Regions from separate parts of the Homo sapiens genome. Here region 1 is linked to region 2. Evidence: promoter capture Hi-C in 16 types of primary human blood cells and fetal thymus (Javierre and others, 2016). All regions are on one chromosome and are shown on one strand. The core of a region is centred on a gene start or on the middle of the fragment in contact, and the rest is flanking DNA. Distances in the headings are between cores, read along the strand shown. Region 1 has its middle 210 kb from the start of LINC01605. Region 2 holds the start of BRF2 (BRF2 general transcription factor IIIB subunit).

Region 1 (4,153 bases), core at 1,141-3,640, 460 kb after region 2:
AGTGAGAATGGCTAGGACAGGCCACCTGCCATTTGCTTCTTTCAGAGTCTGTGAGGAAAACTGGGTGAAAAGACTCCAGTTGTTTGGGATTCTATAAGGTATCCCACTTTCGGTAACTCTTGAAAAATCCCAATTTTGAAAGCAGAGAAACTGGCTTGTGACTACTCACTTCGTGAAACAGATAAACCACAATCCCTTTCAGCTCTCAGTGACGCTTTCCCATTAGGTTTCTAATTATGCCCATCTTATCTGTAATGCACCCTTAATTTGGGGAACTTCCTTTAGTGGGATTCAGGGTCCCACCCTGGGCCCAACCCAGGGCCCAACCCAGGCCCGGCACCCTCCATGCTGGGAGGACCCAGGAGGGAGAGATGCTCATCGCAGTTGGCCAATGGCTGCCTGCTGGTTGAAATGTGAGCTTCCTGAGGGCAGGAATAGGTCCTCTAGACACCTTTATATCCATCCGATGCCTGCTACGTATTGATACTAATGAATGCTTATTGAGCAGAATGAATAAAGTCAGTTCCCAGATATAAGAAATTCATAGCCAAGGAGCAGCTTAAGGAGAATATAGCTTTATTATAAATGAGGGAAATAATCATAGTAATATGTCCCTTCCTGCAGAAACATTATATATGGCACTACTTCTGGTCCTGCCAACAGTGTCTCTTGCGGGCTGGATGACCCCAAGTTCTATTTAGATTTAGGGCATATTTTGACTGACCCACCTCAAATCGTGCCCTGAGACCTTTCGAATATCTTCCATCCAAAGGGGAGTCCCATGCCAAGCTGACCCCATGTGTGGCTGCCTCGCTTTGGGAAGGGTGGGAAGCTGGCTTCAGTCACCAGAAAGAAAAACCCCACCCCTCCCATGGTGGCCCAGGGGCGGGGTGGGCGGGGTGGGGTAGAGAGAAGGAACCGACCTCCCCCAACCTACCAGCCCCCGGGTTCAGCCGGCTCCAGGTGAAAGGCGGTCCAGAGGTTGGCCCACCCTGGCGAACTCCTTGCCTTCCAAGAGAAGAAGACGACAAATGAGACAAAATGAAAAATATAATGATGCATATTATATTAATCATCCTCTCTTTTTCTGACACAATAAATCTTCTCTTTAAACTCAGGGTAGCGATTGCATCATCTCCCTCTCCCCTCGAAACAGCACAGATTAAGATAAAGTGATAGTGCTGTGTCAAAGAGAGCTTTACTGCCACACTTGGGATACAAAGAGAGAGGTTAATTTATCATCGCTGGGGAGAACTGACAGAAGAGAGATATACTACCGAAAGGGGATTTAGCACAGGGCCAAGAAACTTCACACTATTTTTACCATCTGTCACATGCTCTAACAAAGCAGGGCAAAATATGAAGAAAGGAAAAATGAACTATCAAACACTGATGTAATGCAGCCCATAAATCTAATTTAATTACTTTGCATGGAGACAGGTCCTCGAGTCTGTGTGAATATACTGGATTTTCTTGGCAACTTAACAACTAAGTGTTTTAATAACATCACACTATAATTTATTCTGCTTGAAACACAAAACCCCTTTTGTGAGAGTTTCATTTTTGAGAACTGTTAATTTTTTCGGCTAATGTCAAAACTGGCATAAATTCACATGTGAACTTGAAGCCTGACTGTGAAAAAGGCTTAGGTTACTGCATGCCTTTTTATTGTTTGGCACTTTTTCCCCCTTCTGCATGCATTAGAAATAATTGGGCTTTGTTGATGACTTAGGTGAGGAGAGTTGTCTTGCAATTAGGTTTAAATATAATGACAAAGGGTGTGTGGGGGAAATCTTTGTAAAATATAAAGAGGTAAGAAAATGCAATGGGGAAAAAATCCTTATTTTCCAGCAGAATAGCAAAACCTCAAGTGCAATATTCCTGGAATCAGGCTGTCCCCAGAACTATGAGAATTTCACTCTGGAGGATGTAAGATCACAGGGCCAAAGGGACGCTGGGAAGGCAGGTCTGCCCTAGAGGGAACAACCAGGAGGAGAAAATAAATCAAAAATAAAATTAATATTCATTGGGTGTCTTCCCGAATTTGGATGCAGTTACAGAAATTATTGTTAATAATGAAACCCATATATCAAAGGTTATAAAATTCATCTGTGCTAGGACACTATTTTTTTTAGGCTTTGTTCTGAACCATTAAAGATGACATATTGCATTTGTGTGCCTCTGTGTATAATAAGATACATTTAGGTCTGAATCTAACCTAAACTGGCAATTTTGGCATTGAACTCAAGTTCTTAAATGGGGGCCACGACACTACAGTCCAGGGGAGGTCAGCTGAACCCATCCGTTCTCCCATGACCTCACCCACTAAGGCAGGATGGATGGGTAATTAATTTGTTAGATCATCAGTGATTCATGTTGGAAAAATAAAACTCTAAGCCTCTTGACAAATTCATTTGAAATATAATGGGAAAAAAGGATAAAAACTCCTATCCCCCCTCTCCAAAAAAATCCCAAATCCTCATGCTGAAAGCAAATCTAAATACAGAGATAGACAGTTTGCTGAAGTTCATTTATTTATTTCTTTCAGCAACACTGAATACATCCTTACCATATGAGAATCTTTGTCGGACACACCTTGGATGGAGGGGTACATGCAATCGGGTAGTAGAGATATATCAGACTGAAAAATGACTACAGTTTGGGACATTCTAAGAAAGTTTAACCTATCAGCTAATATCCATGGAGTTCATTGGGAGGGCAGATATGGAGTTGGTGATGGTATGGAATCTGGATAAAACAGAAGTGATTCATCTGGAAAATTCTTTTCTTTTTTTTTTTGAGACGAAGTTTCACTCTTTTTGCCCAGGCTGGAGTGCAATGGTGCAATCTTGGCTCGCCACAACCTCTGCCTCCCTGGTTCAAGCAATTCTCCTGCTTCAGCCTTTCTGAGTAGCTGGAATTACAGGCATGCACCACCATGCCCGGCTAATTTTGTATTTTTAGGAGAGACGGGGTTTCTTCATGTTTGTCAGGCTGGTCTCGAACTCCCGACCTCAGATGATCTGTCTGCCTCGGCCTCCCAAAGTGCTGGGATTACAGGCATGAGCCATCGCACCCAGCCCATCTGGAAAATTCTAACAAGTGTTAGACCCCCACCAGGAAATTGACCACAATCTGCATATTGTTGAATATTTACTGAATGTCATCAGTGATTTGGTCTATGTTAAATATCTAGGGCTATCCAAGGGCCTTGAAGCCAGGAAACTGAGGTGCAAACGTATTCAGAGAAGTGCTTTCAAATAAATTTATCTTCATGCCTTTTTCTGAAGTTCATATTCCCCAGTTCAGACTTGGAAAACACTCAATTCTTGTGGTTTCTTGTTCTGTTGAATTTGTGTGGGAGAGAAATGTCCAACCTTGAACTCTGAATGGAGCCCAGTGTGAAAAGTAGTGGTTTTCAGCTGTGCTATTTCAAATGCTCTCATTGGTATTTTTAAGGCTTCCCACATATTCGGTTACTGACCTGGGGCCTGGAATAGTGAACATTAAAAATAAAAAAACAACAACAAAAAAAAACTCAAGCCGCCAGTATTTACTTATGAACTGCCTTGGTTATAGCCCAGCAATCCAACTGCCTGAAAATTAGTGTACAAATTGGAAGTTTGAAGGGTTTCCTTTTTGTCATTTTGATTTCCTCATCTGAAAAATGGGGATATTAGTACCTACCTCCTGGAGTTGTTGTGAGGATTAAATGCAGCTACATATGTAAAGCACTGAGCACACTAAAATGATAGCTGCAATTATTATTTTATTAAAATTATTTTGATTTCACCACCTCTTTCTTCTCCCCTTTGCATTTCTAACCACCCCTCTCGCCTCACCATCTCCTTCTCCCGCCATAATGTACTTTTTTTGCAGACCTACAGGAATCCACTTCCTTCAGCCTCCCCCTTCTGGCCCAGAGGCACACTGCAGCTATGTTGCTTTTTTTTTTTTTTTTCCTATTCTCAAGATAGGAAATGCAAAACAAAAACAAAAACAAAACCCCATCACCTTTGGGGTGGACCCAGGTGGCTGTCTGCAGATGAACCTTATTAGGGAAGCACTTGGCAGAATCAGAAAAAACACCCAACACAGTGTGTGCTGTGTGGCAAAAGAAGAAATTCAAAGGAGTCCACATTCTCAGAGGTCT
Region 2 (4,173 bases), core at 140-2,639:
AAATAAGAATGTCAACCACACTAAAACTAATGGATGTCTCTGAGTGGTGTGTGTGTGCGGGTGCGCATGTGCAAATGTATCTTAATATTTAACTGTCAGACAGCCAGAAATAAGCTCTCATCCTGTATCTCACGCTAGTGGGGAGGTCTAGAAAAGGCGGGGGGGCTTGGACTGCCGGATCCCACCCACGATTAATGTGCTGAAGCCCCCTTCTGTTATGATACTAAAGTAATTCAAATTGAAGAGAAAGGACCGTTGGGTATTATTGTGTCTCTTGGCCCTCCAATGTGAGCGATCCCCATGGGAATGGACGGGATGTCTCTGAAAAGGAGTAGTGATTCTCACACTCTGAGAAAGCAGTCTCTTAGGGAAGGGATGGTGTCTTTAGGTTTGGATATCACGTGTAAAAACTGGGTGTGGAAAAGAAGGGAGTGACACTTCTTAAAGGTATGTTTTATTTTGTTTGAGATGGAGTCTCGCTCTGCCACCCAGGCTGGAGTGCAGTGGCGCGATCTTGGCTCACTGCGCCTCCTGCGCCTCCTGGGTTCAAGCGATTCTCCTGCCTCAGCCTCCTGAGTAGCTGGGATTAGAGACGTGCACCACCACGCCCAGCTAATTTTTGTGTATTTTTAGTAGAGACGGGATTTCACCATGTTGCCCAGGCTGGTCTCAAACTCCCGAGCTCAGGTGATCCACCTGCCTCGGCCTTCCAAAGTGCTGGGATTACAGGCGTGAGCCACCACGCCCAGATAGCTCAAGGTTTTTTAAAAAACATCTGAATCTGCGTGCTTGCGCCGCTCCAGGTCTCCATCACTCCATATTCTTTCACTCCAAACTCCTTTAGACATTCCTGCCTGGCCTCCAAAAGCGTTTGGGTTTGCATCTCTGGATTTTTTTTTCAACTTCCTCATTTTACAGTTGAGAAAAACAGGAGGTAAAGAGAGGAAGGAATCTGCTTTAGGAAGCAGCTCTGGAAAGCAGAACACAGTTTCCTGCTCCCGCTCTCTCTCCACTACTCTCCCTTTAAAAAATATACTTTCTTCTATGGCCAATTAAACATTCATTACCAACCTGCGATTCCCTTAGGACTTTAAAAGGAGGGTTGTTCAGGGGTGACAACAATCTTCTGTCTGTTATACGTGTCCATGTAGGCAAAAACTTTCCCAAATTCAACCCCAGTCTAGGTCCCAAAAACTAACTACAGAGTGCAGGGAAACCAGACAGCTACAGTTCAGCCCAGGAACCTCCTCTCCTAGCTCACGTTTCTACCCGAGCCCGCGGAGGCACAGACCGGAAGTGGCGCGCAGCCTCCCAGCGGAGGGAACCGCCTATGCCTCCGTCGCGCTGGCCGGAAGACGGGGGTGCAACCCTTTGAAGTGTCCCCTCCTACTTCTTGCTGCCTCACGGTTGCTGTTGCAGACCCAGGAGTCTCTGAAGGCTTCCGCGGCTTTGGGGCCGGTTGTGAGATGCCAGGCAGAGGCCGCTGCCCGGACTGCGGCTCCACGGAGCTGGTGGAAGACTCGCACTATTCGCAGAGCCAGCTGGTGTGCTCCGACTGCGGCTGCGTGGTCACCGAGGGGGTCCTTACCACTACCTTCAGCGACGAGGGCAATCTCCGAGGTACTTGTGGCCCTGGGGACAGCCTGGGGCGGTGGAGGGATTAACATCAGATTCCTTTTGCCTCCCCGCTCCCCCCATACTCCTAACTGTAACGCACACACTTAATTTGAGAGAAAATGACCTAAAGTGAGCGAGGGAGCTGAAGGAGATGGGGGCTGCCATTCATCTGTGTTTTCCCAGCACTTAGTATCGGGCATAGATGGTGCGTGTAATAAATATTGAATAAGTGAGACAGAAACAAAAGTTCCACTCATCTTGCCATGTCTGGTCATTGTGGAAGGATTGCCGATACGATTATAGCAGGTATTATTACCCTGAAATAGTTTTAAGCACAAACTGGCAAAACATCACTTTTCTTTGCTTTCCAAGTTTCTGACCAGTGCAGCCCTCAAAATCTGCAGCCATTGTCTGGGTGGGGTGGCTTACGCCTGTAATCCCAGTGCTTTGGGAGGCAGAGCCGAGAGGATTGCTTGAGCCCAGGATCTCGAGACCAGCCTTGGTAACGTAACGAGACAAGTGCCTAAAAAAATTTTTTTTTAATTAGCCAGGTATGGTGGCATACACCTGTAATCCCAGCTACCCAGGAATCTGAGGTAGGAGGATTGCTTGAGCCTGGAAGTTGAAGGCTGCCGTGAGCTGTGATCGCACCACTGTGCTCCAGCCTGGACTATAGAGGGAAACTCCTTAAACAAACAACAACAAAATCTGCTGCTAGGAAAATTGCCTGTATGGAATGTACTGGAAGGATGACTGGAAATTTGGAACACTTGGAGCTGCTTTAATGCAGTCCTAACCTTTCCCAGTCTCTGTGTATTCGGAACCTCTTGTAGACATAGAAAACCAGATGGGGCCTTTAACTGTGCAGCAGCAGATGCTCAATGATTTGAATTTTGCGTCCTGGTTTTGTGTGGTGGGAGGGCAGGGGTCTGATGAATAAAGGCTAAGCACACTATTTGTTGTTTATTATCTTACAGAGGTAACATATTCCCGAAGCACAGGGGAAAACGAACAAGTTAGTCGCAGCCAGCAACGAGGTGAGAATTGACCTTTTACAACACAGTGGCTTTAAAGAAAACTATCCTAGGCCAGGTGCTGTGGCTCACGCCTGTAATCCCAGCACTTTGGGAGGCCTAGGCAGGTGGATCACCTGAGGTCAGGAGTTCAAGACCAGCCTGGCAAACATAGCGAAACCCCGTCTCTACTAAAAATACAAAAATTAGCTGGGCATGGTGGCATGTACCTGTAGTCCCAGCTACTTGGCAGGCTGAGGCAGGAGAATCGCTTGAACCTGGGAGGTGGAGGTTGCAGTGAGCTGAGATCGCGCCACTGCACTCCAGCCTGGGTGACAGAGTGAGACTCCATCTCAAAAAAATAATAATGAGCCGGGCGCGGTGGCTCATGCCTGTAATCCCAGCACTTTGGGAGGCCGAGGCGGGCGGATCACGAGGTCAGGAGATTGAGACCATCCTGGTTAACACGATGAAACCCCATCTCTACTAAAAATACAAAAAAATTAGCCGGGCGTGATGGTGGGTGCCTGTAGTCCCAGCTACTCGGGAGGCTGAGGCAGGAGAATGGCGTGAACCCGGGAGGCGGAGCTTGCAGTGAGCCGAGATCGCACCACAGCACTCCGGCCTGGGTGACAGAGCGAGACTCTGTCTCAAAAAATAATAATAATAATAATAATAATAATAATAATAAAAGAAAACTATCCTGGTGGCCTAGCCCAGCTTTTCACTTTTCCTATTTTCAGCATTGCTGGTGTGAGGTAGAGTAGAAGAGAATGGTAATTAGGAATTTAAAATGGGGATGGTGGCTCACACCTGTAATCCCAGACTTTGGGAGGCCGAGACGGGCAGATCGCTTGAGGTCAGGAGTTCAAGACCAGCCTGGCCAACATGGTGAAACCCCGTCTCTACTAAAAATACAAAAATTAGCTGGGCCTGGTGGTGCACACCTGTAATCCCAGCTACTCGGGAGGCTGAGGCAGGAGAATCACTTAAACCTGGAAGGAGGAGGTTTCAGTGAGCCAAGATGGCGCCACTGCACTTCAGCCTGGGCAACTGAGCCAGACTCTGTCTCAGAAAATAATAAAATAAATAAAACAAATAGGGATGGTTCTGAGAGAGGCAGCAATTCAGTATAAGGTTTGGGTTTGATCAGACGTATGTTTGAGGTAGCCTCTAAGAGCCTGGATAAAACTTGGGCTTGGCCCTGAATCAAACCAGCCTGCAAAAACTAGTGGGCTGAAATGTGACTTCTTTACACAAATGTTTTTGTGTCTTTAGAATGACTATACCAAGTGTCACTCCTGTCTATGCAGAAAGGTACATAATTTGTGCATCTGATATCTGAGGCAAGTTTAGCAGATCTAAGTAAGTCCTAGCAGAATTTTCTAGGAGTTGCACGATAGCTCCTTTGACCCCTCTAACTCTTGCCGTGGGTTTTTCCTAGGTCTCCGGCGAGTGAGAGACCTTTGTCGAGTTCTGCAGTTGCCACCAACATTTGAGGATACCGCGGTTGCCTACTACCAACAGGCATATCGGCACTCTG

The links. Contacts are between HindIII fragments. The CHiCAGO score rates a contact against its expected background, and 5 or more counts as called.
Region 1: a contact is called between a fragment that was not itself captured here and the fragment with the promoter of BRF2 in region 2, in 1 of 17 cell types (total B cells). The highest score is 5.5, in total B cells.

What each region holds. Positions count from the first base shown.
Region 1 is chr8:37,390,409-37,394,561 of GRCh38, reverse strand. No RefSeq gene overlaps it. Among named protein-coding and RNA genes, the nearest start is that of LINC01605, 210 kb to the left of the region's middle. RefSeq lists an enhancer at 898-2,486. The HindIII fragment of the contact is 7,434 bases long and covers 1-4,153 here.
Region 2 is chr8:37,847,077-37,851,249 of GRCh38, reverse strand. It overlaps BRF2 (BRF2 general transcription factor IIIB subunit), which reads left to right and starts at 1,389. Exons shown (of 4, transcript NM_018310.4): 1 at 1,389-1,620; 2 at 2,595-2,654; 3 at 4,075-4,173. The coding sequence starts at 1,467. RefSeq lists enhancers at 1,184-1,533, 1,574-1,713. The HindIII fragment of the contact is 8,285 bases long and covers 1-4,173 here.